5 separate regions of the Homo sapiens genome follow, and regions 1, 2, 3 and 4 are each linked to region 5. Evidence: promoter capture Hi-C in 16 types of primary human blood cells and fetal thymus (Javierre and others, 2016). All regions are on one chromosome and are shown on one strand. The core of a region is centred on a gene start or on the middle of the fragment in contact, and the rest is flanking DNA. Distances in the headings are between cores, read along the strand shown. Region 1 overlaps NLK (nemo like kinase). Region 2 overlaps NLK (nemo like kinase). Region 3 overlaps NOS2 (nitric oxide synthase 2). Region 4 overlaps NLK (nemo like kinase). Region 5 holds the start of LYRM9 (LYR motif containing 9).

Evidence for each region. The method cuts DNA at HindIII sites, captures the fragments that hold promoters and counts their contacts. A CHiCAGO score of 5 or more calls a contact.
Region 1: a fragment that was not itself captured here is called in contact with the fragment with the promoter of LYRM9 in region 5 in 2 of 17 cell types (megakaryocytes and M2 macrophages); the score reaches 10.8 in megakaryocytes.
Region 2: a fragment that was not itself captured here is called in contact with the fragment with the promoter of LYRM9 in region 5 in 6 of 17 cell types (megakaryocytes, M2 macrophages, M0 macrophages and 3 more); the score reaches 11.0 in megakaryocytes.
Region 3: a fragment that was not itself captured here is called in contact with the fragment with the promoter of LYRM9 in region 5 in 5 of 17 cell types (naive CD4 T cells, naive B cells, monocytes and 2 more); the score reaches 5.9 in naive CD4 T cells.
Region 4: a fragment that was not itself captured here is called in contact with the fragment with the promoter of LYRM9 in region 5 in 2 of 17 cell types (megakaryocytes and M2 macrophages); the score reaches 6.4 in megakaryocytes.

What each region holds. Positions count from the first base shown.
Region 1 is chr17:28,074,371-28,079,880 of GRCh38, forward strand. The region is part of intron 1 of NLK (nemo like kinase); the gene reads left to right. Among named protein-coding and RNA genes, the nearest start is that of NLK, 34 kb to the left of the region's middle. The HindIII fragment of the contact is 1,767 bases long and covers 1,924-3,690 here.
Region 2 is chr17:28,122,558-28,128,092 of GRCh38, forward strand. It overlaps NLK (nemo like kinase), which reads left to right. Exons shown (of 11, transcript NM_016231.5): 2 at 46-175. Among named protein-coding and RNA genes, the nearest start is that of NLK, 83 kb to the left of the region's middle. The HindIII fragment of the contact is 3,882 bases long and covers 1-3,794 here.
Region 3 is chr17:27,759,775-27,765,646 of GRCh38, forward strand. It overlaps NOS2 (nitric oxide synthase 2), which reads right to left. Exons shown (of 27, transcript NM_000625.4): 20 at 5,761-5,872; 21 at 4,207-4,370; 22 at 3,024-3,231; 23 at 1,370-1,457; 24 at 849-970; 25 at 256-404. Among named protein-coding and RNA genes, the nearest start is that of NOS2, 38 kb to the right of the region's middle. The HindIII fragment of the contact is 7,852 bases long and covers 1-5,628 here.
Region 4 is chr17:28,098,153-28,103,841 of GRCh38, forward strand. The region is part of intron 1 of NLK (nemo like kinase); the gene reads left to right. Among named protein-coding and RNA genes, the nearest start is that of NLK, 58 kb to the left of the region's middle. The HindIII fragment of the contact is 4,375 bases long and covers 1-4,112 here.
Region 5 is chr17:27,892,002-27,897,800 of GRCh38, forward strand. It overlaps LYRM9 (LYR motif containing 9), which reads right to left and starts at 1,364. Exons shown (of 4, transcript NM_001076680.3): 1 at 1,316-1,364. RefSeq lists a silencer at 996-1,545. The HindIII fragment of the contact is 2,313 bases long and covers 284-2,596 here.

The DNA.
Region 1 (5,510 bases), core at 1,557-4,056, 180 kb after region 5:
ATCAAGGGGAATTTTTGCCTTTGGGTTACTATTTTTAAAAAATTTTTTTAAATGGATACAGTGATAGATTTTAGAGCATAACAGTTACAAATGGAGAGGTTTCCTAAATGACCTTGATTACTTTGTGTGTGTTGGGGTAGGGGGTTGAGGAGGTTGTTTTTCTCCTGTTGCCTGAATTTAAATGTTTTTTCTATGGTGAATTACATAATTATTTCGTGGCCATTATATATTTGTCCTGCAGTTTTTTATTATTTTTTTACGAAAAGAGATCTAAGGGCCTTTAGGTGTCCATTGGCAAAGCTGATTTTATAAATATGTGTTTCTTTTGCCTAGCATCTTTTCACATATTTGAAGATATATAGATGGGAAAAGAGCAGTAGGATGAAAAAGGGAGGTGAGAAGAATTCTTCGTAGAGAGCAAAAACAGGTGAGGAAAGCAACTAGTGTAGCGGTTGGGATGACTTAACAATAGAGGGAAGGCACAGGTCAGAGAAGAAGGCAAGAGGAGGTGCCAACACCCGAGGTTGGGAGGTGGACACCAAGCTGGCTCATGATGAAACAAGCTGGCGTATTTCACTTGTAAATGTTTTTATAATATGCACTTTTCATTTTAACATCTCCAAAATTAGGATGTTTCTTACAATTGTTTGCTTTTTATTTTTGTTAGTACATAAAATAATGGCACATTTACCATTAGTGGCATTTTACAGTTAATGAAATATGGTATAATTTTACATTGCTCACAAGGAGTATTGGCTGTGTTAGCCTGCTAGTTTACATTATGTGATCTGGCAGACAAATCAGTTTTTAAAAACATTCAGAAACAGACTCAGCATTCAGGTGATTTGGACAACTGATTGATGTTATTCCAAAAGAAACCTCTCTCTAAGGTGATTCGTGTGAAACTAGCAACTTCTTTTTGTAAAAGGTCTGCCACTGGATAGGCTGTGTTTGCAGTTGCCACAAATTCTGAATCAAAGGCAAGTAATCATTAGGTGGAAATCAAAGTAACCTTTCTCTACCCCTGTGATTTGAGGGGCTATTTCCCTGAAGCATGTGCAAATTATTTGTTAGGCAAGAACAACTTGTATGGCAACTTCTTAGCATTGCTTAGACAACATCTCTGTACAGTTTGTGCCTCAGGTTCATCTCTGTTTTGTATTCTTGAGTCTCTTTGGAATTTTGACACAGCAATTGAGCTCTCAGACTTACTTATTTTACAAAATTGGGCATTTGAGTAAAAAGTGCCTCAACTTAAAAACTGTTCTTAAGTTTTCTTCTTTTGCTTTGGCTACTATAAAGCCCAGAGTCAAATGTGCACCCTCCTCAGTTAAGGGATGTAGAGTTTCTTAGCTTATGTTTTGGGTACAGACCACTTTCTCGGTCCCTTCACCCCCACTTCATAAGCTTCCTACCCATTTTTTCCCCCTTCCTCAAACCCTTATTCCTCCTCTTCCCGCACCCTTTAATCTTACACTGTATGCTTCTGTCTTAGCTACCTCCCGTCTGTTTTGGAATGGGGTGGGATATAGATAAAAGCTAAAAACGTCAACAGATAAAATCTATCTTTAAAAAACATTTACCCATACAGTGAAAAAAGCACATTGAAATGGTGAAGTGAAAAGCCCAGTTTTGTTGTCCTTTTTTTGTATATGTCTTAAATGAGGTGAGTTGTTTTGAGGAAAGGCGAATTTTGCTTTGCCAACATTTGTGATGGCTTTAGTGTGTTGGAGCTAAAAAGGATTGTGAGCTCTTTCAAGTTACTTCTAATTTAGAGACACTAGATTTTTAAAGAAAAGGATAATTAAAAATTTGGATAACTTTAAAAGATGGAGTTACTGTCAAAATACCAAAGACTAGGTAGCTTATAAACAACAAAAGTTTATTTCTCACAATTCTGGAGACTAGGAAGTCCAAGATCAAAGCTTCTGCAGATTTGGTGGCTGGTGAGGGCCCATTTCCTGGTTCATAGATGATACATTCTCAATGTGTTCTCATCTGATGGAAAGCAGAAGGCAGGTCTTTGGGGCCTCTTTTATAAACGGCACTAATCCCATTCATGAGGGCTTCACCTTCATGATATAATCACCTCTCCCAAGGTCCCACTTCCTAATACCATCATATTGGTGATTAGGATTTCAACATACAAATTTTCAGGGGACTCACACATTCAGTCCAAAGCAGTTCCTGTTGATTAGCTGAAATAATGTGACAGAGCTGTACTGTTTTCCAACAGAAAAGGTACTTTTAACTTTTCTGTTAGAAATTTTGATATTTTTCCTGAGACTGGAGAAGGTAAAAGAGTATCCCCATTTTTGTGCATCTGTGTATTAAATTGGTATGTGAATAAAAGAGGACCTATGGTTTATAAAACAGTGAAAAACAAAGAAGTGGAGTAGAGAGGGTTAGTATCATTGGTTCATGCAGTTTTTTAAACATCTGTCCTAATCTAACCAAATTAAGTGCAATGTAGTAATTGGACTTTTGTATTACCATATTTTGCCTCTCTTCCTATTTCTTCTGCCTCTGAAGTAACATTGCAGCTTGTAAGATTGACAATTATATTCAGTCTGATATAAGTAAAATTTGCTAATTTAATGCTGTGTGTCATGCCATGGTTTTTTTAAATTGATGTTTTCTTTAGTTAGTACCCGTGTCCCTTTTACTTTTTCCCTTTCTTTGCTTTGTACTTCTCTTTCTTTCTTTTTTTTTTTTTTTTTTTTTTTTTGGCTTTGTACTTCTCTTTCTTAGACAAGGTACAAACCTCCTTTCCCTGCCTTCTTTCCTTCCCTTGTTTGCCACCTGTATTAGTCCGTTTTCACATTGCTGATAAAGACGTGCTTGAGACTGGGAAGAAAAAGAGGTTTAATTGGACTTGCAGTTCCATGTGGCTTGGAAGGCCTCAGAATCATGGTGGGAGGCGAAAGGCACCTCTTAACATGGTGGCGGCAAGAGAAAATGAGGAAGATAAAAAAGCAGAATCCCCTGATAAAACCATCAGATCTCATGAGACTTATTCACTACCACGAGAACAGTATGGGGGAAACTGCCCTCATGATTCAAATTACCTCCCACCGGGTCCCTCCCACAACATGTAGGAATTATGGGAGTAGAATTCAAGATGAGATTTGGGTGGGGACACAGCCAAACCATATCACCAGCCCTGGAGGATAAAAGTCATTCCTGAGAATTAATTGTCTTGGAATACTTAAATTATAAACAATTTCTAAGGCTATTAGGCATCTGATACTATCAGTTAATGCAAAACATTAATCTGGAGATAAAATTAGGCATCTTGATCAGTTTGATGCCGAGAATGCCATTATATTAAACTTTGCATTAATATGGAGGGAATTAATAAGAAAATGTTTGGAAACTTTAGCTTCTTTTGCCAGTGGTGTGTTATAATTCTTTCATACTGGAAATAATAAACTAACTATAGATTTTCATGTTTTTATAGTATTAACCTTATTTTAAATTCCTATCATAGGTCTCTCTCATAAGTTTCGAAGAAAGAGTAATTCTTTTTAACAAATATATAGATGCACAGAAAGTTCTGCTTCTTTCTCAAGCATGTTATAGTTATAGGAAAATATGAAACAATTCTTAAGAGGTTGTTCTTCCTTAAGGTATGCATTTGTTATTTCACCAATAAAAAGAATTCATAAAAAAAAAAGTGCTATCGATTGAAGCTTATAAATGCCTCTACTCATTCAATCAGCTAAAATTATGAAATGGTATACTGCTTTAATCCAGAAAGTACTGTACATTATTTTTTTCTCCCAGAAAACATATGTGATTATTTTCTGTAATGGCAGCTGAATGGGGGTTTAGATCATTGCATATCCAGTAGGAGGAAATTAAAATTTAATTATCAGAAGGTTTCCTGAAATAACATGCCTTTTTTCAAGCATTGAAGTAAAAATGACTATAAACCTCTTTTGATTATATGATAAATTAGATCTTTTACCATTAAAAAAAATTAACAGATTTTATTTTTTAAGTCAGTTTTAGGTTTACAGCAAAATTTGGGAAGTACGGAGTTCCTGCCTATCTCCCCTGTGCCACACACACAGTCTTCCTCTTGGTAGCAATATTGAACCTGGCCCAGGAAATTGTTGAAGACTTTGTCGGGGGTCATTCCATCTGTGGCACCAGTAAATTCTGTCATTGTTATCTCTTTCTGCCAGGATTACTACACGTGTTCTCATTGTAGTTAGTCACCTTATAGCCAGTTTCACCCACTTTCCATTTTACTTTGTGTTCATTTTCAGCCTTATTGGAAGATTAAATAAGATGATACATGTAGTGTGCCTAGTACAGTGCCAGACTCAGAGTAGTCAGTTTGGTTTATAGCACTCTCTCTGTAAACTACATGGTTTATAAACCATGGTTTATAGCACCCATTCTCTCAATTGTGAATAAAGTTCATCTGTAGTCCTAGCAAGGCATTAAAGGACCCTTAAAAAAAAGACCTTAGCCTCCCTTCTCAGATTTATTGTACTCTTATGGATTCTTTTTATTGTTAAAATAAAATTGACCATTGTAACCATTTAAAAATGTACAGTATAGTTGTGTTAACTATATGCACATTGTTGTGCAACAGATCTCTAGAACTTTTTCATCTTGCAAAACTGAAACTACCCATTGAATAACAACTTCCCATCCTCCCTATCAGCTCCTGGAAACCACAGTCTACTCTCTATTTATATTCATTTGACTACTTTAGATACCTAAATAAGTGGAATCATGCAGTATTTGTCTTTTTGTGACTAGAATATTTCACTTAGCATGACATGCTCAATGTTCATCTATGATGTAGCATATGACAGGATTTCCTTTTTTAAGGCTGAATAATATTTTGTTGTATGTATATACCGTATTTTCTTTATTTATCCATTGATAGACAGATGTTTCCATCTCTTGGCTTTTGTGAATCTTGCTGTAATGAACAGATATGCAAATATCTCTTTGAGATCCTGGCTTCAATTCTTTTGGATATATGTCAATAAGTAGGGTTGCTGAATTATATGGTAATCCTATTTTTAAGTTTTTGAAGAGCCTTCATACTGTTTTCCATAGCAACTGGACCATTTATATTCGCACCAGCAGTATACATGGGTTCCATTATTTTCACATTTTTGCCAGCACATGTTATTTTATTGTATTCTATTTTTGATAGTGGCCATCCTAGCAATACCTCATTGTGGTTTTCATTTGCATTTTCCTGATGATTAGTGAGGTTGAGCATCTTTTCATATGCTTGTTGGCCATTTGTGTATCTTCTCTTTTGCCCATTTTTAAAATCAGGTTATTTTGTTGTTGTTGAGTTGTCAGAGTTCCTTGTATATTCTAGGAAGTAAACATATATGATTTGCAAATATTTTTTCCCATTCTATAGGTTGCCTTATCACTCTGTTGATTGTTTCCTTTGCTGGGCAAAAGTTTTTGAGTCCTGTTCATCTGTTTTTGCTTTTGTTGTCTGTGCTTTTGGTATCATATCCAAGAAA
Region 2 (5,535 bases), core at 604-3,103, 230 kb after region 5:
TTTCTCTGTCTTTTTTTTCCCCTTCCCCAAATATTGCTTCTTTAGGTCAGTAACAGATCCAAGAGATGGAAAGAGAGTAGCGCTCAAAAAGATGCCCAACGTCTTCCAGAATCTGGTCTCTTGCAAAAGGGTCTTCCGGGAATTGAAGATGTTGTGTTTTTTTAAGCATGATAATGTAAGTGAAATTGGTATTTGGGGGAAACTATTTCCTAAGCCTCCTGCATTGAATTAGTAAAGAGCAGATGAAAGTTTAAAAGGGCACCTATAAGTAAAATTTGGAAATTGGCTATAGTTTTATGCCAAATGTGAAAAGAAATAAGCGCACCAGTGAGGTTATGGGAGAATACCTATTGATAGGCTTTCAATTCATACATTCTTATTGAAAGAGATGCACACACACACACGTTTTCTAAGCTGTAGTCTTTCAGTGCTTTGCTTTCCTTTTATATATACTCTTTATGTCTCTCTATGACTGTCTTAAATTTTCACTATTGAGATTAGTGGTTTTCAACCTTAACATATTAGACTCACCTGGGGAGTCCATTTTATCAGCATTTTATTTGAAGGTTTGAAAATTACACTATGAATTGTATGACATGCACAAGCCCTAAACTCCAAATCAGGAAACGTTGAACCTATTGAGTTTCGCATTGGCTTCTGAAATGTGGTGTGCACTCTCATTTGTCAATCTGAATGTCTTTTTTAATTCTAAGAATACAAGCTATTAAATATGTTTAAAGCCCATAGAAAAGGAGCATATATTTGTAGGGAAATAGGTTATTAATAGAAACCACAACCAAGGTTTTTATTGAGGGGCTTGGAAACCTGAGACAAATTAGACCCTTTTTGTGACTGAACAATGAACAAGTGTAAGTGAATTCAAGTGAATTCTAAGATTGATTGATTGACAGGTAAATATTGATGCAAAGCAAATATTGATATTTAGCCGAGGAATAATACTAATATTCAACACAAAAATAGAGTGTAGTGATTTATATAGTGAGTGATTTAAGTGGAAATAATTGACCCTTGATTTTAAGTGCTTTATTTTTATCTCAATATTTTAAATCAGAGATTAAGTTAGAGATGTGGGAAACAGTTTCTCCTATAAAAACAGTACATCCCTTAAGGTAACATAGGCTACCTTATTTATGGCTATGTTTAGAGATGTGAAGACTTATAGACAAATAGACTCGTGTTTTGACAGAACTTTCCTTCAATTAATCCTGAGTTAAAAATTTGATACATGTAAAATTTACCTGGAGGTCGCCAGCATTAGAATATGTTTTCATTTTCATGTGAAAAGAAAAACTGCCTCAAATTCTTTATATAATACTCAACCTATGCTATTTTAATTGCCATAATAAAAACTTATCAGAAAAAAAATTATGATTTCTCATGAGTCTGAGTGCTTATTTGCACAAAAAACTCGAGAACTTTGGCCAAAGGTTTGGTCTCACTTTAAGAAGCAAATTTTGAAAAGTTTGAGGTATTTGTTAAAACTGGGAGTACTAAACTTACCATATGGTTCACTCGAAGCTCCTTGGTTTGACATATTTCATTTTAATGATTATTCCTCTTGAAATTCTCTTGCCTTAATTTTTTTAAAGGGCATTGCTGTGTTTTAGTCAATTGGAACTGCCTAGCAATATGCTTGTTTTAATACATTTCAAAATACCACTTGAAGCCAGGGACAATGGCTGCATCTGTAATCCTAGCTACTCAGAAGGCTGAAGTGGTAGGATCAGTTGAGTCCAGGAGTTCAAGACCAGCCTGGACAACATAACGAGACCTCATCTCTAAAGAAGAAAGTTTTTTAAATTAGCTGGGTGTGGTGGCACACATCTGTAGTCTCAGCTATTTGGGAGGCTGAGGTGGGAAGATCACTTGAGCCAGGAGTTCAAGGTTGCAGTGAGTTATGATCAACCACTGCACTTCAGTCTGGGTGCAGAGCAGGACTCCATCTCTAAAAAAAAACCACACACACAAAACAAAATACCACTTGAGTTACTATTTTACTACCAGTTCCTCAGATTTTAGAAATAATTTAGAATAATGTCTAGTTCTTTCTTAGTTATTTCTTGACCTTGCCTTAGTGTGTCACCTCAGCATCAAAGAGTGCAGACCTTCTTTCATTGTCAGAGACTCAAGTAAAGGTATCCATGACGAAAAAATATTTCAAGGGTGGCATCAGAAATTTGCTTACTCGGGGCCGGGCGCAGTAGCTCATGCTTGTAATCCCAGCACTTTGGGAGGCCAAGGCAGCTGGATCATTTGAGTCCAGGAGTTCAAGACCAGCTTGGGCAACGCTGCAAAACCCCATCTCTACAAAAAATAAAAAATTAGCTGGGTTTGGTGGCACATGCCTATAGTCCCAGCTACTCAGGAGGCTGAGGTGGGAGATCACTTGAGCCTGGGAGGCAGAGGTTGCAGTGAGCCAAGATCACGACACTGCACTCCAGCCTGGGCACAGAGCAAGATATCACCTCAAAAAAAAAAGACAAAAAAGAAATTTGCTTACTAATGATGTCAATGGCTTACTATATTCCAACCAATCTTGGCCTCTTCTATAAAGGAAGGGTGGTATAATAAGCTGCTGTTTGTCTAGTTGGTATTTTTGCTCATGACTCATTCCTAGTAACTAATTAAGTTACAAAGACAGTGTCAAAGGGAGTAGTGTAAGAAAAATAAACTGAATTTGTGAAAATCACACCAATTAAAACATAGAAGCAATTCTCATACAGTTTCTAAGAGCTGTGCTTTAAAGTCAGAACTAGGTTTGAATTGTGGTTCTACTATTTTGTACTGTTGTGTCTTGGACCTTAACTTCTCCAATCTTTAAGTTTTTTTCATTTTCGAAGCAGGCATGGTAAAAGCAGAAATAACTGTGTATGATTGTTGCAGAAATTAAATTTTTTTAATGCATATAAACCTGCTCAACACACAACCACTATTTGAAACTACTGAGCTCTATCATAGAAGAGTGCCTGTGACATCTGTGAAAGTGTTTAAAAGTGAGGCACATAGTTGAAGATGGCACAGCACCACTATTTTATATATAATAGATCTCTGCTATCTCTGAGATCTATTTCCAAAAGGATCTCAGGGCCAGCATAACTACTATGTGTGGAATGCCAGTCTAAGAGGCAACTGGTATTTGATCTAGTTAAGGCAGCAAATGTTTATTTATTGTGTCCTATGTAAGGAGTGCGGTGCTAGGTCATGTGGAGGATACAATAAAGGCTTAAAACACTTTCTTTTTGAAGGGGTATGTTTAATATTGCTCTGTGTCAGGAGATATGCTAGATACTTTACATATATTAATTAATTTACTCCTTAAAAATCGTGTCAGATAGGGCTTGTTAACCTTACTTTGTAGAGGAGGAACCAACGACTTGGAGTTACGTAACTTGCCCAAGGTTAAGGTGGCACAGATTGGACTGTAAATCTGTCTTGCTGTAGAGCCCATATTCATTAATTCAGTAAACTTTTATTATGCACATCCTGTATGCCTAAACTACATTAGCTCCTGTTGTCTTTACCTTCAAATAGTTGAAATAATTTTCAAAATGTGATAACTACTATGATAAAAGCACTGTGGGAGGGTTGCCTGCATGGTTAAACATTAAGCCAGGACAGCTGTGTGCATAGCAAAGAGCTGGACAACCAAAACCTAGAAATGTATTCAAAGATTCCCTGGAGAGGGGGACCTTAAAACACAGATTCATGGGTCTTACCTTGCACCTACTAAATTGTAATCTCTGGAGTTGAGGCCCAGGTATCTGATTTTTTAAAGCTTCTCAGGTGACAGGCAAGTACCATAATATTAAGAAAAGAGAAAAATTGTTGTGGACTTAGAAATTCAAAGATGCATCAAACACAGAGAAGGAAAATCTTAATATGAGCCTTTTGAGAACAAGATTTGATTGAAGAAGAAAGGAATGTCATGATAAAAATGGCATTTAGAAAGATCTTGGTCATTGTAGGAAGGTTGGATTTTAATTTGGATGGCTTTTTATGTGTCAAAGAATAGTAACAAAGCCTGGGAGGCTTTGGATTTTCTTTTGAAAGGAACCTTCAAAGTCACTGTATCAAATTCATTGATTTCAGGTGACCTGACTGAATTTTTACACACATACACACACACATCTGAGTACCTGCTTCACCATCTTAACACATTCACCTTGATGAAGTAACTTGGGGAAACAGAAATGGGTTTAGCTTTCTAAAAATTGGTGTTTAGGCTTATTACTAGTATCTATCTGAGCTTTTGTAAAATCTGGCAGAATCTTCTCTCTACCCATCTATGCATTTGTGCTTGTATGTATATACATGCATAGTTGTCATATGATCAGCAGGGAAAGTGATGATTTAGGTTTTTTGGATCTTTGAGATGAAAGCTATGAATCCTGTCAGAAAAATGCACATATATACAATTTTAATGTCATTTTAGGCTTTCACTTGTCCTCTAAAGCCCATTTAGAGCCCCCTTAGGGTCTATTGATTCCTGCCAAGAGCCCCTGTAACGCAAGTCTTGGACATTTTTCTTGTCTTTAGACAATAACACTAAGTACACAGTAGGCGGCGATTCTATTTGAAGAGTAAGTGAGTGAATGAAAGTGACAGAAAAAAAGAAATCTAAGGGCCTGGAGTGATAACTTCTGTGATCTCTCTCTTGGGGTTACTTTTTCTTGTCCTAGCTCTGGAGTGCTCCAGAGAGGGCTAGAATGAGACAAAGAAGCTTCATTCATTTTCCTTTGTATAGTCTGACCTAACTCATACAACACCCCTTTGGGTTCATAAGTAGGTTACAGAATCATACAGTATGGGAAAAACAGATATGGCCTATCTTTTAATACAGACATGCTGTTCAGACATTAGTAATACTAAGTGCTAACTAATACTAACTGTTGTGCCGCTAAGGAGTTGGAAAAAGCAAAGGATGATGTAGAGGTAGGTTACTTTTCAAGGAATTTGGTTTTGTTTGCTGTGTGCCTAAAGTTTATAGTTCTAGGCAGATTACTGTCACATTTAAAATAATACAGTCTCCCATGTTAATGGATTGGAAGACTCAATGTGATTGATAGGTCTTTTCTTCCCAAGTATTGCTATACATTTCAGTATAATCTTAATCACAGTCCCAGCAAGGTTTTATGTCTATATGCGTATGGAAATTCACAAACATCCTGAAACTTATGGAAATGCAAAAGATACAAAATAGCCCAGACAATCTTAAAGAAGTTAAATAAAGTTAGAAATTCATACTACCAAGTATTGAGACTGTTGTCCAATATTGAGACTGAATCCCAGGAGCAACAGAAGGTATAAAGCACAAGATATGGAGCCAGAACAAGGATAGACAGATAGATTAATGGAACAGAATAGAAAGTTTGTAAACTGGCATACTATATACATGTTCACCTGATTTGCAAGAGAGGTGCCACTATAATCCAGTCGGGAATGGATGACCATTTCAATAAACAGTTCTGAGTCCGTGAGATATCCATATTAAAAAAATTAACCTTAGCCATGTAC
Region 3 (5,872 bases), core at 453-2,952, 130 kb before region 5:
GGGGACCTTCAGCAGGCTGGGCTCTGGGGTTAACCCGCGTGTGACCTAGGTTAGTCCTGAACCTCTCCAGGTCTGTCGCTTCTGCTGTATGAGAGGGTGTAATGCTCTTCACAGCATCACTCTGATGGTTGTGAATTACCAGCATTTTCGAGCTCAGGAGGTGAAGGCTCGGGGAGGCGAGGGGCCTGTGGGGACCCAGGGCTCACAGTGGAGCTTGTGTGTGTAATGCTTCACCTGCTTTGAGGCTGCATTTACCTTGGGCTTGCCAGGCAGGCGGGAATAGGCTGTGTGCACCGCATGCAGCACCCCCTTCTGGGCCATCTCCAGCATCTCCTCCTGGTAGATGTGGTCCTCATCTGGGCGGCGGCACCCAAACACCAAGGTCATGCGGCCTCCCCGCACTCCTGCAGGAGTCCCGGGCTGTTGTTACCATGTTGGCCACCAGAGGGCGCCAGGGCTCCAAGCCCAACTGGAATTCTCACTTCACTCCCACTAGCTATTTAATAGCATTATCCCCACTTTACAGATGAGGAAACTGAGGCCCAGCGCATTCAGATCACTCATCCATAGTCACAGAACTGAAAGTGCGGATGCAGAATTCCCTCAGCCAATCGGAGATCAAAAGCAGGGACTTTCCTGTTACCTCCACTCCCAGGAGAGGGAGCCCTGGCTACTATGCGGGAGACGGAAAGGCAGCCATTCTAACCCGCAGAGGCCCGCACAGGGAAGCAAACTTGGGAGGCCTTCCCTCGAGAGAGGTCAGGAACCGTTTGTGGGGCTGCAGTTCTGCTCCTAGGCAGGCGCTGGCCCCCTGGTGCCCCTCCCACCTGGGAAGCCTCCAGCCTTACCCTTGTGCTGGGAGTCATGGAGCCGTTGCTGCCAGAAACTGCGGAAGGGCGCGATGCCTGTGCCAGGCCCGATGAGGATGCAAGGATGGGAGGGATCCTCGGGGAGGTGGAAGCCGCTGGCACTGAAGAGGACAGGAGAAGAGGGGGCCAGTCCTCAGACACCCCAGGCCCACGCACACACAGGATGGCTGGGGAGCTGGGCCTGTGGGAGGCGGTCGTGAGGGGGTGGAGAGGACAAGAAGCTCCTATTTGATTTCCCACGTCCTGCAGGCTGCTTCACTTCTGTCCAGGCACCAGCACCTCCCCCAGGTCCTTCTGTAAAAGGGCCAAGCTCACTGGACTCTTGAGACCCACCTGTCATCGCTGTCCCTGCTACAGGCAGCCACACCAGTGTGACCCCAGTGCCTTCTTTATGGGCCAAGGGGCTCCGAGCGTCTCCTAAACCCCAGATCCCTCCCTTTCCTCCCGGAACTCCCAGGGGTCGGCGGCCCCACAGGGGACAGAGTGGAAGGGGTGCTTACTTCCGCACAAAGCAGGGCACTGGGTCTTGGGGCTTCAGGCTGTTGAGCCATGTGCTGCAGACGCCGTGGTGCAGGGGACCCTGGCCATCTGCAACGATACCACAAAGTGACCAACGTCCCCCCACTGCCCATGCGCAAACTGTACCAGCTGCTCCGCCCACACCACGGCCCTCCTTGGACGCCCCCACTCAGGCACTCTCAGGACTCAATGAGCAGCTGTTTGTCCTCCTGGTTCTGAGATCCACCCTCTGTAAGCGCGGAGCTGAGGAACGTTGAAAGGGACTTAGAGAGGCTGCAAGTTGCTCCTTCTGCCCAAGCAGAAACTGAGACGGGGAGAGGAAAAGTGACTTGAAAAAGGTCACTCAGGTCGTGGTGGAATCAGGTGGACAGCTCAGCTTCCCTGACTCCTACTCCAGTGCTCCTTCCAAAGACTTTCTCCGGGAACACTCCCAGCTCACCACTGAGCTCCACTGACAGCAGCATGAAGTGGCCCCTCAGGGTGGCTACTGCTGTGCGTGCTCATGAGCGTGGCCCTTGCTGGTAGCAACCCTGGGTGGTGGATGAGTTCCGCGCATTTCAGCCTGCTCTGGCACCTTGCTTTCCTCCTCAGTGGGCCCTCCTGGGCTTGTAGAAACCCAGGAGGTCTCTCTGGGTTGTGTTCCCTTTACAATGGCCCAGCACTTGAGGAAGGCCTCCAACCAACTGCAGAGGTCCCCCTGGTTTTCCTCGGGATTAAACTTTGATCTCACAGGACACGTCTGCCTCTCCTCTCCTGGTCTGGGTGGCTGTTCTCTAGCAGGGCAAATAGAGTCTCTGCCAAGGTTTTAGAAACTGTGTTTTTGCTTCTTGAGGACAGAGGGCTCGGAAGTGTGGGCAGCTCCCAGCTTTGCCAACCCAGGCAATGCTCAGTTACAGAGGGCAGGGCAGGGGGCAGCGGCCAGTGGTGGAGCCGAGACCACCTGGACGAGATGTTGGCCTCCCGCTCTATGGCAGCGTCACCCCCTGCTCTGCTTCCCTCAGTGACCCTGACCTTTCCTTCTTGGCTTCAGCACAATGAAAATCATCTAATTATTTCTATGCCTATCTCTCCACTGCCGCCTCTAGATGCTCCCTGAGGGCAGGGCTGATCTCTGTTGTATTTCCATACCCACCCCAGTGCCAGGCACCCACTGAATAGCTGAGTGAGTGAATGAATAATCAATGCAGAATCTCCCCTGCGTTCAGGCTGCATGATTGGGAAGACTAAGAACCACTGGCCTCCTACCAAGGGTTGAGTGCTCTTCACATCTGATCTCATTAAATTGTCCCAAGAGTAGTGGGACAGTGGAGTGGTGGAGGACTTGGACTCAGCAGTTAGACTATCCAGGTCTGAATCTCAGCTCTCCACTTACTAACAGTGTGACTTTCTGTGCCACCTGTAAAATGCACACAGTGCCTACCCCACAATGTAACTGATCATATACATACAGAAGGCTTGGTTTAGTGCCTGGTTCCTAGAGATCTCTCCCACACACCTCCTAATACTGTTAACAACTCTGGGCTGTGGGTGTTCCCTCCCTCCTTGAACTGATGAGGGAGCTGAATCTGAGTTGATGAACAGATGTCCAATAATGGGCGGAGCGGGGCTGTTCCAGAGCCTCTGCCCCTGGCTCACCTCGGGTGTGGTAGGTGACCACGGCCACAGTCAGGTGGATCTCTGTGGGCGTGTGATCCCGGGAGGAGCTGATGGAGTAGAACCTGGGCTTCAGAATGGGGAGCTGGGAAAGCAGGAAGCCAGCAGACACCCGCAGGGACGGGAACTCCTCTAGCACCTCCAGGAATGTGGGGCTGTTGGTGAACTTCCACTTGCTGTACTCTGAGGGCTAAAAGCCAAGGGTGATGTCAGTGACTCAGGGCGCCTGTCCCGCTTTGGGGAAAAGACTGTCACAACCCAGTATTCATTCATTCATTCACTCACTCAACAAACAAGTCCATGTGCCAGGCACTGTCCATGGTGCTGAGACGACCAAACTTGAGACAAAATAAGTGCCTGTCCTGGAGGAACTCAGTCCAGTACATTTATCTAACTTGTGTTACCTCCACTGTCGGCAACTCATGGGCAGGGGTCAAATCTTTATTGTAATTTATTTGGGGCAAGGCTTTGGAACCAATCAGACCTGGGTTCAAATCTTGGCTGGGTGTCCTCACTAGCTGTGGAATCTTGTCCCAATTACCCTTTGTGAAACAAGGACAGTATTGCCTGTCTTGTGGGGATGTTATGGGAATTAAATGAGAAAGCATGTGCCAAGTTAGTACATTGCAGCCACAAAATAATGGCGGTGGAGGTAGCTTAAATTGAGATAATTAGCTATAATGATGATGATAATAATGACAACCAGTGCCTTTTGCAAAGACTTGGAACCAGACAGTTGCAGGTGAGTTAACGCATTCTCTCATTAACTTATTAATTCAGCTCTCCATCTGTCACTCTGCCCATTATGCCCATTTATCCATTCATCCACATCATCCATCCCCCAATACATCTTAAGTGACAAGTTTATTCCAGTTTTGGGGAAAGCAAAGACGGATAAGGGCGGCTCCCCTTTCTAGCTAATGTTCAAGGCAGTGCACTCTGGTTGCATCCTGCAGACACTTGGAAAAATTCAGTTCACTCAACACAACTGTGTCCTAGACATGGGCCAGCGGACGATGCCTGGCTTCCCACCAGCCTTTGACAAGTCTCACTTTGGGAACCTGGTGTGGATCCCTCTTGAAAGTTAAAACCAGCTCTGGACTCTGGCTCCCCACATGCTGGGACCCCCCACATACCCCCACTGCCCACCAGCCCTGATCTTCACCTGGCACAGGGCCTCCAGCCTCTGTCTCTCAGGCTCTTCTGTGGCCACCTGGGCCAGCTTTTGGAGCAGCAGCTGGGTTGGGGGTGTGGTGATGTCCAGGAAGTAGGTGAGGGCCTGGCTGAGTGAGCAGGGGGGCAGCCTCTTGTCACTGACCCAGTAGCTGCCTGGATGGGGAAGGAAGGTGTCAGGATGGAAAAGAGGCCCCATTCAGGATTCTCAGCAGGTAGCGAGGCCCCCAGGCAGACACCCTCTATTCTCCAGCTGCAGGGGAAAGGAGGCTCTAAAGACCTGGCTCTAAGAGCAAAAGGCAGGAAGAAGGTGGCGCATGGAGAAAGGACTGCCAGGGAAGGCTGATCACCAGCCCCCAAAGGGGCAGTAAGTTGGCGTGGTCCTGATAAACTAACCACGTCCTTCTCTGGCCCAGACCTGAACTTTAGCAAGACACTCACTGGTGATCTACAGACTCACAATGACTAAATCCACCAAAGACTAATGGATACCTCACAGGCCAGTTGTTCACTTAGAGAGAAGCCCATGACTGCAGTCCCCTGGGTGCTGTACCAAGATGTGCTGGGTGAGCAGATGAGCCCAAAGGGAAGTCCCAGGGAGCAGCATGCAGGGCAGTCACAGCACAGACCCTGGTGCCAGAAGACACGGGTTCAAACCCTGGCTCCCCACTTCTGAGGTGACTGAAGCCTCTGGGCCTTGGCTTCCCTCCCTGTGAAACAGATCTGATAGCACAACCTATCTTGCTGGGTTGGCATGAGCACTGAATGAAATTGTGCCATAATAGTTGGTGCCGTGCCTGGTACACAGATGCTTTGTAAACACTGGGTAAAAATAAGAGCCTGACATTCTCTCCTCTGGAACAGAGTCCTGATGAACCACATCCTTCACCCTACAGTCACAAGGGCAACTGTCTTGTCGTCCCCACGTCTCAGGTTCTCTCACTTTCTCCTGGACAGTGGGGGTCACTGCCAGGCTCTGTTTCTCTGATCCCACTTTCTTTTTTATTTTTTTGAGATGGAGTCTCTGTCACCCAGGCTGGAGTGTAGTGGCGAGATCTCATATCACTGCAACCTCCACCTCCTGGCTTCAAGCGATTCTTGTGCCTCAGCCTCCCGAGTGGCTGGGATTGGGATAACAGGCATGTACCACCATTCCTGTCTAATTATTTTTGTATTTTTAGTAGAGACGGGGTTTTGCCATGTTGGCCAGGATTGTCTCAGACTCCTGACCTCAAGTGATCCACCCACCACGGCCTCCCAAAGTGCTGAGATTACAGGCGTGAGCCACCACACCCAGCTCATCCCACTTTCTGACTTTGGCCACTGCATTGAGGGGGATGTTATCATTAGGGAAACTAAGGCCAGGGGGCCATGCCTTATGGGCTGGGACTGTTTCCACAGCTGCTTTCACATAAGCTTTGGTGGCCCGCCCTCTCAGCAGGAAGGACAGGGATGGCTGTCACCGGCAGGCCCAGGCTCAGCCCCTCAGCCAGGTGGGGCGGCCAGAGGGTGCCAGGCAGCACTGGCTTTCTAGCCCGGGGCTCACCACTCTCATCCAGGGCCTCCAGGCGCACTGTCTGGTGGGGTGTGGGGCCATCCACCACTCGCTCCAGGATACCTTGGACCAGGGCCGGCTGGTTGCCTGGGCAAACCCCAAG
Region 4 (5,689 bases), core at 675-3,174, 210 kb after region 5:
TACTTCTTTATCTACCACAGGGCAAACTGTAAGTAAACAATTAAAATAACTGATTCAATTTGTGAATCAGCTCTCTTGAAATGATATAGTTGCTCATGTTAGATCTTTTGTGATAACAATGATTGAAGTCCAAAGGTAATTGTTTAAAAAATTGTCATAAGAATTAGGCAGAACGGGTAGCCTCATATACCCAAGGTGGAGTAAAAGAGAGTAGAAATTATGAATTATTTTTCTTCTAATAATAGAAATCTGTTATGATAGTTATTACTCACTTATTTGTACTATAACTCTTCCAAGTAGAAAGTAAACATTTTTGTCAAAGGTACCAGCATAAAATTCAGGAAAGGGGAAGAAAACTGACATTGAGTACGTCTTTATTCATCAATAAGGGTGCATGTATATTATTGGCCACATCATTTTAATTGGATGGATATTTCATTATTTAACCAATCACCTATTGTTGGGCATACAAGTTTTTTCCCAGTTATTTTTCACAACTATGAAAAGTTTTTCATTACCATTCTTTTTTTTTTTTTTTTTTTTTTTTGAGATGGATTTTTGCTCTTGTTGCCCAGGCTGGAGTGCAATGGCGCCATCTCGGCTCACCACACCCTCCGCCTCCCGGGTTCAAGTGATTTTCCTGCCTTAGCCTCCTGAGTAGCTGCGATTACAGACATGCGCCACGACGCTCGGCTAATTTTTTATTTTTAGTAGAGACGGGGTTTCTGCATGTTGGTCAGGCTGGTCTTGAACTCCCGACCTCAGGTGATTCACCTACCTCTGCTTCCCAAAGTGCTGGGATTACAGGTGTGAGCCACCGTGCCTGGCTTTCATTACCATTCTTGTACAGGCTTATTTTGTCTGATTGTTTCTGTAGTAAACATTTCCAGAAGTAGAATTTTGGGACAAAAAGGTCCACCCATTTTTTAAGGGTTTCGATAATACAACGCCAAAATACTCTCCAGAAATGTACTAATTAACACCTTTCATCACTAGTGTAATTCTTGCCAAGTCTATGAGAAAAAAATAATATCTCAGTTTCAATTTTGTTTCTTTTATTAGTGCAGTGGAGTACTATTTCTTTTGTTTTCTGATTTTGTGTTCCTTTTTTAAAATTAAGATTTTGTTTACATACAACAAAATTCACCTATCTGTGAATTTTGTACACAGTACAGTTTTATTTTGGTAATTATATACGATCACGGAACCCCCACCACAATCAGAACGTTGAACAGGTCTTTCACCCTAAAAAGTTTCTTCCTGTTTCTTTGCAACTGGTCCCCTCTCATCTGCAGCCCCAGGCAACCATTGGTCTAGTTTCTGTCACTATAGTTTTGTCTTGACAAAAGTCATTTTGTAGACATTTATATTTTCAAATAAATGGAGTCATATTGTAAATAGTCTTTTGTGTTTGACTTTTTTTTTTTTTTTTTTTTTGAGACGGAGTCTTGCTCTGTCGCCCAGGCCGGACTGCGGACTGCAGTGGCGCAATCTCGGCTCACTGCAAGCTCCGCTTCCCGGGTTCACGCCATTCTCCTGCCTCAGCCTCCCGAGTAGCTGGGACTACAGGCGCCCGCCACCGCGCCCGGCTAATTTTTTGTATTTTTAGTAGAGACGGGGTTTCACCTTGTTAGCCAGGATGGTCTCGATCTCCTGACCTCATGATCCACCCGCCTCGGCCTCCCAAAGTGCTGGGATTACAGGCGTGAGCCACCGCGCCCGGCCTTGACTTTTTTTTACTTAGCATAATGTTTTGAGATCCATCCATGTTTTATTAATATTTCATTTGTTTTATATTATTGAGTTGTGTTCTTTGCTATGGATGTACCAACATTTATTTGTGTGTTCATCACTTGATTAGCATCTGGATTGTGCCAAAGTTTTGGCTTTTATGAATCACACAATTGTGAACATTTGTGTGCAAGTTTTTACATAGCTCTTGGGTAAATACCTCTTTTTTACATTGCTCTTTTACATTGCTCATTTTAGATTTTACATTTTACATTACATAGCTCTTTTTACATTGCTCTTGGGTAAATACTTAGGAATGGAATTTCTAATTCACATGGTAAGTATATATTTAACTTTATAAGATACCACCATACTGCTTTCCAAAGTGTCTGTACACTTTGCATTCATACCAGCAAATGAGGATTTTCTCCAAATCCTCATGACCACTTATTATTTTCAGACTTTTTTAAAACCACGAGCTCATGTTTTATTGGAATAGAGAAACTTGGCCATAATTACAATATAGTATGATTAGTGCTAAATATGTCAGTCTTTTAAAACTTCAGCCATACCAGTGGCTGTGTAGTAGAATCTTACTGTGGTTTTAATTTGCATTTTTCTGACTAGTGATTGTTGAGCATACTTTTATGAGCTTATTAGCCATCTGCATAAAGTGTGGAGACCTTCCCTCAGTTTTAATTGGATTATTTATTCTGGATACAAGCCCTTTGTCATGTAGGTGTTTTAAAATAGTGTCTCCCATTTGGTGGCTTGCCTTTTCATTTTCTTAACAGTGTATTTTGAAGAGCAAAATGTTTTTATCTTATGAAGTTCATTTCATCTATTTTTTTACTTTCATAGTTTTTGCATCTTTGTGTTCTAGAAATCTTTACCTAACCCAAAGTCGCAAACATTTTATCCAAATGACTTTTTTCCCTGAAAGTTTAATCAGTTTTACCTTTTAAATTTAGTCCTGAAAGGGTAGCCTTATATGTCCAAGGTGGGGTAAAAGAGGGTAGAAACGATGAATTATTTTTCTTTTAATAATAGAAATCTGGCCAACGTTGAAGTTGTGTATAGTGTGAGAGTAAAGGTCATGAGTCATTTTTCTCCATGTGGATATCCTATTATTCCATCACCATTGGTTTAAAAAGCTATCTTTTGTTCTGTTGAATTACCTTGGCCTTTGTTGAAAATTACTTGACATATAAGCATAGGTCTGTTTTTGGACTTTGTGTTCTGTTTTATTGACCTCTATGTCTATCATTATGCCAGTACCACCACATATTGATTTCTGTAGCTTTATAATGTTGAAATCAAGTAGTATAAATCATTCAACATTGTTCTTCAAATTTGTTTTACCTATTCTAGGTCCTTTGTCTTTACATACAAATTTTTTAATCAGCTGTTGCTTTCTTCAAAAAAGCCTGCAGGATTTTGATTGGAATTGCATAGAATCTAAAGATAATTTTGGGAGGTTTGCCATTTGAACAGTAAGTCTTTTAAGCCATGAACATGAATCCATGGGCATGGTATATTTCTCTTTATTTAGGTTGTCACCAATTTCTCTTTGCAATGTTTTGTATTTCTCAGTGTACAAGTCTTGCACATCTTTCATTAAATTTATTTGTGAGTATTTTTTTTGTGTGTGCTTCTTTTGTAAACAGAGTTGGGGTTTTTATTCATCTTTATCTTCTAATTATTCAAAGCTAGTATGTAGAGATGCAGTTGAGTTTTGTAGATTGACCTCATACCCTGGAACTTTGCTGCTTTCATTTATTAGTTCTAGTAGCTCTTTGTATGTTTCTTAGGATTTACTGCATGTATGATTTTATCATCTGTCAGTCAGGACGTTTTGAGTTTTTCCTTTCTCATTCATATGCCATTTATTTATTTACTTGTTTACTTATTTTTTTCCCTATTGGCTAGGGACCCAGTGTACATGCACTTTTACAATTGCTATGTTTCCCTGATAAATTGTCCTTATATAGGTATAAAATGTCTCTATTTCTTGTATAAATTTTATCTTGAGATTTATTTTATCTGATTCTAATATAACCATTTTAGCTGCCTTATGCTTACATGCTATATTCTTTTTCATTTATTTACTTTTAACCTATCTGTATCTTTTGTTTAAAGTGTATCACTTATAGACAGCATATGATTGGGTATTGTTTCTTTGTCCATTATGATAGCCTCTGCCTTTTAATTGGAATTTTGGTTTATTAATCTTTAATGTAATTAGTGATGTATAGTGAGGTTTGGGTTTACCATTTTGTTGTTGTTGTTTTCTATTGTTGCCTGCATTTTGTTTTTATGTTCCTCTTTTCCAGCCCTCTCACTTTTGGATTATTTGAGGTATATTTTTATTAAGATAGAAAAGCTTATATTAACTAATCTTTTTAAGTGATCTGCTGACAGTAATTGCTTTAATCAAACATTTTTTGGATATTGTTGACTTATGTTAAAGTAGAAAAAAGTTTTTGGCCAGGTGCGGTGGCTCACACCTGTAATCCCAGCACTTCGGGAGGCTGAGGCAGGTGGATCATGAGGTCAGGAGATCGAGACTATCCTGGGCAACATGGTAAAACTCTGTCTCTACTAAAAATACAAAAATTAGCTGGACATGGTGGTGCATGCCTGTAGTCCCAGCTATGCGGGAGGCTGAGGCAGGAGAATCACTTGAACCCGGGAGGCAGATGTTGCAGTGAGCCGAGATCACACCACTGCACTTCCAGCCTGGCAACAGACTGAGACTCCATCTCAAAAAAAAAAAAAAAAAGTTTTTACCCCCCTCAGCTAGAAATATTTCATGGATTTGGGATATTCAGAGTTCTGAGGGATGTGATGAGGTTGCAAAAGAAATTTGGCAGACTTAGAAAGCCTAATGAATAAAAGTTCATTTATTATAGAGTCTGGCTTGCATTTTTTTCTTTGTAGTTTCTCCCATGGGACAGAAGTTTACTTCAGGGGGGCATCAGCTTTGTCTTATTCCTCTTTATATATGTAGTACCTAGTGATGGCTAGTTAGATGCCCAGTAAAGGTATATGGAAAGAGTAAATGGTTTGCAGGTGGCTCTTATGTCTGTCTTTCTGCTATAAAGCATTCATGTGGAGCAACTCTGCAATTTCTAACAACCTTTTAACAACCTTTTGGTAGTAATTATCCCTTCCTATATATTTCCTTTCATTCTTCTGAGGGAGAAAAATGGCAAAATAAATAAATAAATAAAAATAAAAAGTTGAGGAATGGTGGAGTGGAGGGAAGTTTTGTTATATGTGATTCCTAGTCTGTTTCTTGCAACTTTGTATAGCATAATATGCTATCTGAGAGTAACAAGAATGAGTCCTGTAGATTGTTCTCTGGAAGTATAGCAGAAGTTCCATAAGCCAGCCACCATTGATATTATGCATTACATGCATTTTTACCATGATTTAAAATCTTTTTGCACTCAAACTTTCTAAGATTGTGCTTTACCCTTTTTTCTGAACTTTGGAGCTTTTGCAGTGTGAAAGTTTTTGTTTGAAAGTTGTATTCATCCATATATATTTGTGTGTTTATATATAAATACATGCAAATTTACAAAGAGCTGCTTCACATAGTCAATACATATTTAAGGTCTTAAAGATTCAATTAAGGGAAGTTTTGTGTATGTGTATTTACAAGTGAGATAATGAATTTGGAAATATGCATAGATTTTAAACTTTTTGTAGTTATCACAGTGGTAGGAAATTAATGTGTTAGTGATCAACTTTTGAAGCCAAGTTCTGAATACTTTCAAAAATCTAGTGTCTTCTTAAACTTAGCAGGTGCACTCTCCCTGTCTATAGTAAGGTCTGATTAAGGTTTGTAATTTGAAAACGTAAGAGATAGTGCCCAGTTAGGTTAAAATACCAAGAGAAATAGTTTTAAGACTGATAAGTTCTTTGAAAAATGTATTCTGACCACTTAACCTGC
Region 5 (5,799 bases), core at 114-2,613:
GATCACTGCAGTCACAACTGCCCGGGCTCAAACGATTCTACCTCAGCCTCTCAAGTGGCCGGGATCACAGGCACACGCCACCACGTCTGGCTAATTTTTTTAATTATTTATAGAAACGAAGTCTTACTATGTTGCCCAGGCTGGTCTCAAAATTCTAGGCTCAAGTGATCCTCTTTCCTCAGCCTCCTACGGTGCTGAGATTATGGGCATGAGCCACTGCGCCCAGCGTTGAACATCTTACCCTTTCCTACTTTATTTGGCTTTCTGTTCCTTGCTGACTGTAAGCTTCTGAAGAACAAGAAACTATACTGTATTAGTTCAACACCTGTGAAATGAAGGGAAATTAGTAAGAAAAATATATATACGGTTATTAGTCACTCCTCCACAGTTTATAGTACCTGAACCATAACAGAAGTTCCATAGATGTCAATTGATTCCCAAGTTACCAGAGGAAACTAAAGCCAGCAGGAAACTGTCCTGAAGTCAAGAACCTATGGCAGGTGAACCCAGAAAACATTACGCTAAGTGAACAAACCCAGTCACAAGGGGCTACTTAATGTATGATTCCATTTATACGAAACATCCAGAATAGGCAAAAGTACAGAGACAGAAGTACATTGGTGGTTGCCTAGGGCTGGGAGAATGGGAGTAGATGGGAGGGGGGAGTGACAGCTAAAGGAGGTGTTTCTTTTGGGGGGTAATGTTCTAAAACATTATGGTGACAGCTGCACAACTCTGCAAACACACTAAAAGACACTGAATTGTGCACTTTAGATGGGTGAACTGTATGCTTCGTGAATTATATCTCAATAAAACTTTTTAAAACAATAACCACAAAAAGGATCAATCCTAGGAGCGAAAGGGTTTTGGCCACGGAGCAACTTGCTCTTACGCAGAAGCATAAATCATCACGACAAGGTTGCTCCGGCCACCGGGTGCCGCGGGCAGAGGGACGGTGGAGGGGACATTCTCCTTTTAAAAGTGGCCAGGCCCGTGAGCCTCTGAGAGGCTGGCCTCCGGGCTGCCCCGGACCTCGCGCCCCTAGCTCGCGCTGCAGGCCTTTCCTGCTCCTCCGAGGCCGCCCGGCCAGGCCTGCGTCAAGCCCGGGCGCCGCGCTCCGGTGCACTCAGCTCTCCGGTGGAAGAGCGCAGACCGCAAGGGAAAAGGTGCCGGCGCGGGTCGCCCCTAGGTCTTCAATAGATCCGAGGACACCCGAGGCCTCCACATCCCTAGCCCGCCCCCGCCACCCAGTGGCTCCGGCCGCCGCTGCCCCCGCGCCCCCGCCCTCGGCCTCGGCCTGCGCAGCGCGGCTCACCAGCCTCCAGGGGAACGCCAGCCCCGGACGCCGCCGCGGCGACGAGTGCGCCTGCGCCCCGGGGACTGAGCGGCACCGCCCCTGCCCGGCGACGGTGAGCCCAGCGCCCTCTGCCGGCCGCGCGCGGGACTCGGGGTCCTACTGGGTGCCTCTTCCTAGATCCGACCCCACCCAGTTGAAAGCTGTCCCCACTAACAGCCTTCGTTACCTGTTACCTCAAACACCCACTCTGCCTTCTGGCTGTTGCTACGCCGGATATAAGCCCTAAAGGCACTCTCTCCTCCTTATTCCTGAATATGGATTGTGCTATGAATATGGGGTGTTCAAGATCTCTGAAAGGCTTGCTGGAGGACTTTTCCTGAACCTCTCGTGTTGATGACAAGAATTGTGTTTGGATAGGAATCTGCGTTTTGAATCATTTCACCAAATTACAGTCCCATAACACCTGTCAAAAGAATAAATATGACAGTAATAAGCATGCTTCCTTTCAGACCCATCTATAATTATAATTGAGGAAAATAATACAAAATTTAAACTTAGAGCTACTGCCAGTATCATTCTTTGAAAATGAAATAATGCTGTTTATTAAATAGGCTCTCCCTGCTCTCTAATGTTTAAAGCTCAAGTGCTTCTCTGAATTGATTTAAATACAAGTTTTATATCCTGAAAGAAATCAAGATGAGTCATTATCTTAAGACAAACCCCCCTGTTCAATGATGCTGCTGATCTCTCAGCTGATGTCTAAGCGGGAGTTAGGTTGTTAGTGGATAATATTGCTTCTGTTCACGTCTCTCTTCTCCAGGGCTTTTTAAACCTGTTTGTAACGAAAAGGCTGATTTCCTTCAGACTCCATGTGTCGTTGATTTAACAGGACAACTTCTTACAGGTTTTTCTTTTTCCTTTTTCTTTTTTTTTTTTTAAGTAAAACATTGCTCCCCGGTGGCACCTGGGAATCTGTTTTTCTTCTCTTAGGATAAGAGAAGCAGGGATATTTCTTAACGGAAGTTTTGTTTTGTTCCTAACTCCCTTTAGAGCTTCCTCTTTTCTTTTTTTTTCTCTTCACCTAACATACTAGACTTCCCTCAAATCGGGGGTGGGGGATGGGAAGGTGGGGTTCCCTCCCTTGAAATATTCAGATAATTGCTTCCATTTATTTTAAAGATGTAGACTTGGACAAATATATCTGAAAGATACAATTGTACCCTCATAAATCAGCCCTCTTATTTACACATGCATAATCAAGGGCACGTCATTAATGCAGAGCCAATCAATAAATCATTAAGCTTTTAAAGCCCTTATTAAGAACAATCTGCAGTAACATCATCCACTCCTGTGCTCAGTCTTAGGATCATTTAATAATTTTAAGAAATTTCACAGTCTGTTCTGTAGTCTCATCTCCCTTTTGTTCCTAGATAGCTGTATTCCTGCATCAGAAACATGGTTCTAATACCTAGATCTCATAAAATATTGAAGATGCAAGCTGTTTGCTTTACCTCTGAAAGGCTCCACCTTCAGAATCACTTGTGCCTCTTCCAATTTTACAAACGCACAAGATTTTAACTTTCACAACAATTTCTTATAAACATCCAAATACTAAGAAAAAAAAATCCAAAGTAGGAGAGATTTGAACAATAATCTCTAATTTTTTTTCCAAGTCACAATGGAAACCTAGATTTGAAAATAATTGAATTTGAACCTTTCAACTTGACAGCAACCTTAGGTTCTTACAGCTTCAATAGTAAAATGAAATAATTTTTACTAGTCCAAACATTCACTTAAAATGACACCAGTCTCATAATCTGATAAAACCCCAACCATTTTTACCATGTCATTTTCCTATACACTGAAATTTTAGCAGATGAACCCCCTTATGTCAGACAGTGCATGATATTTACAGATAAACAAAATAGAAAGACCTTTTACTTGAGAAATTAGTCACCCACTGTCCAGGGGACATGTTCGCACAGGGGAGTTTATTGACTTTCCTAAGAAATACACCACATTCTCTTGATTTCTGACATTATGTCATTTAGCCTGACAACTGCAGATTTGTAACCAGTATTTGTAGGGAAAGATACAAGAAGTCCTGACGTTTCCAGTTTAAACCTGTTTTTAGATTTCAAAGAGAAATGATAACGTTTGCATCCTCTGATTAAATCAGGTTATTGTCTCCAAGGGTGACCATGTAAATAATTCAAATTAATTCATCAGTGTACAATAGGTTTAATAAGCATAATAAACACTTTTAAGAAAATACTTAAGACCCTCGGTCTGCCCTCGATCTTGCTCCCTATTATCTCAGATTTCCCTGAGAACAGAATGAGTGGTACCACGTTGTTCTCTTCTATTCAAAATATGCAAAGCTGCTATTTACCAGCTTGCAATTTGCATGTCTCAAATCCTGCCAGAACACAGGGTGAGGGCCATGGGGTGATGGGTGAATATGCCAGAAGAGGACACCAGGGGCGAAAATGGAAAATGGGGTGAACAGATTTTCCTTACCCCAGCGTATTGCAAAACACAACTCTTGCTGACTACTCAAGATTTAAGACAATAAAAATATTGGGTATGAAAGGTTATGTGAAATCTCAGACATCTAGTTTGTTTTTCTTTAATTGCTGGGCAAAAGAAAGGGATGAGCAAGGATTTCAATATTTTTATAAAAGGGAACACAAGAGGAAAAAGGGTACAATTGTGACTATTTACAACATACACTTGGAGATTAATTTATGGGCTGGGTTTCAGCCTTCCTGGTCCTCCATACTATGTTACTTTCTGCAGCACCATAAATCCAACTTTGCTGACTGGTATATGTCATTCTCTGTTTCTAGTGTGTTCTGTAGTAATTTATTAACAGTGACCACATGTGAAACCACATTGGTGATCAGATGTATGTTATCTCTGAATATGTCCCCACTTTTTTTATCTCTTGAAAATATGTTCTATGTCTCATGATTTCAAATTGTAAATAACATACACACATACACATAATGTTTTGTATGAATCACCTTTGGAATGGAATTTCTTTTTCATAAAAATTTCAAGTGCATGCTGGATGTGTATGTGGCAATATTACCAAAGGAGTGAATGCGCTTGGGAACATTCTTCTTTTTTGCATTTTGACAGCATTTGACTAAAGATCCACTTAAAATTACCTTGCTCACAAAGTGTAATTCTGTTTCCACTGACTATATCTGCAGTGTCTTGAGATGTCCAGAGACAAGAATTACATGCCACCATTAATAGGAATGGAGACGGTAAGAAATAATCAACTTTATTAAATAGGATTATTTGAAGAAAGAGGAGAGACAAAGGGGTGAAGAGGAGAAGGAGAGAAAGAAGAAAGTGAAAAGGAGGGAAGTGGAGAATAAGTAAAAGTAGAAGGGAGTTATCCTGTTGATGCTGTCCCCAAGAGAAAGGGATGATAGAGTTTTAAGTGTAGCAGCCCAGAAAAAAAAAAAAAGGCAACGTTAATGAAGGGAAATCATTTATCGGCTTGGCCAGGAAATTGGGTGTTCTGGTCAGTCAACTACATGGTTAATAGTTACCTTCCACTTCAGCAAACATCTGTTGAGACTCCTTCATGTGCAAAACTCCATGCAAGACCCTGGGTCATAGCGGAGGCCTCTGAACTCTATCCCTGCCATGCGGGCTCTCCTGTCCTTCTCCACTATGGTTAGAGACAGGTATAGTCTTGTCGCTGTCCTGCTGTAGTCCCCTTAATGACTTCTCCGTGTTCTCTGAATACATACGCCAAACTCCTTACCATGTCCTATGAGGCCCTCCAGGGTCTGGCCTCTTAAGCTTCCATCCATGTCCCCGTCCTCTGTAGCAGCCACAGTGGCCTTTCAGACACTCATTGTATCGTGTCCTTCTGCCCTGCTCCTCCTTTAGATCCCAGCTAATAGATCTCTTCCTCGCCTTCCCTGACATCCACATTCCCACCCCATAATGGAGCAGGTCCCCCCACCCAAAGAGTAGACTGTACTTTTCTCCATGGCATGCATCACAATTTATAGTTACATATACCCCAATTTGGACTCCCCCCAGAGAGGCCCCCAAAGCAAGGATTTGAGAACAACTAGTTCATTTGAAAGGTGGTTCTAGAAAACACTAAGTGAGAAAATAGGGAAGTGAGGCTGGGTACAGTGGCTCACACCTGTAATCCCAGCACTTTGGGAGGCCAAAGTGGGTGGATCTCCTGAGATCAGGAGTTCAAGACCAGCCTGGTCAACATGATGAGAGCCCCATCTCTCCTAAAAATACAAAAATTAACTAGCCAGGCATGGTGGTGATAGCTTGTAATCCCAGCTACTCAGGAGGCTGAGTCAGGAGAATCGTTTGAACCCAGGAGGCGGAGGTTGTAGTGAGTGCGCCCTTACACTCCAGCCTGAGCGACAAGAGTGAAACTCCATCATAAAAAAAAAAAAGAAAGAAAAGAAAAGAAAGAAAGGAAGGAAGGAAGCGGGGAAGTGAGGCAAGGA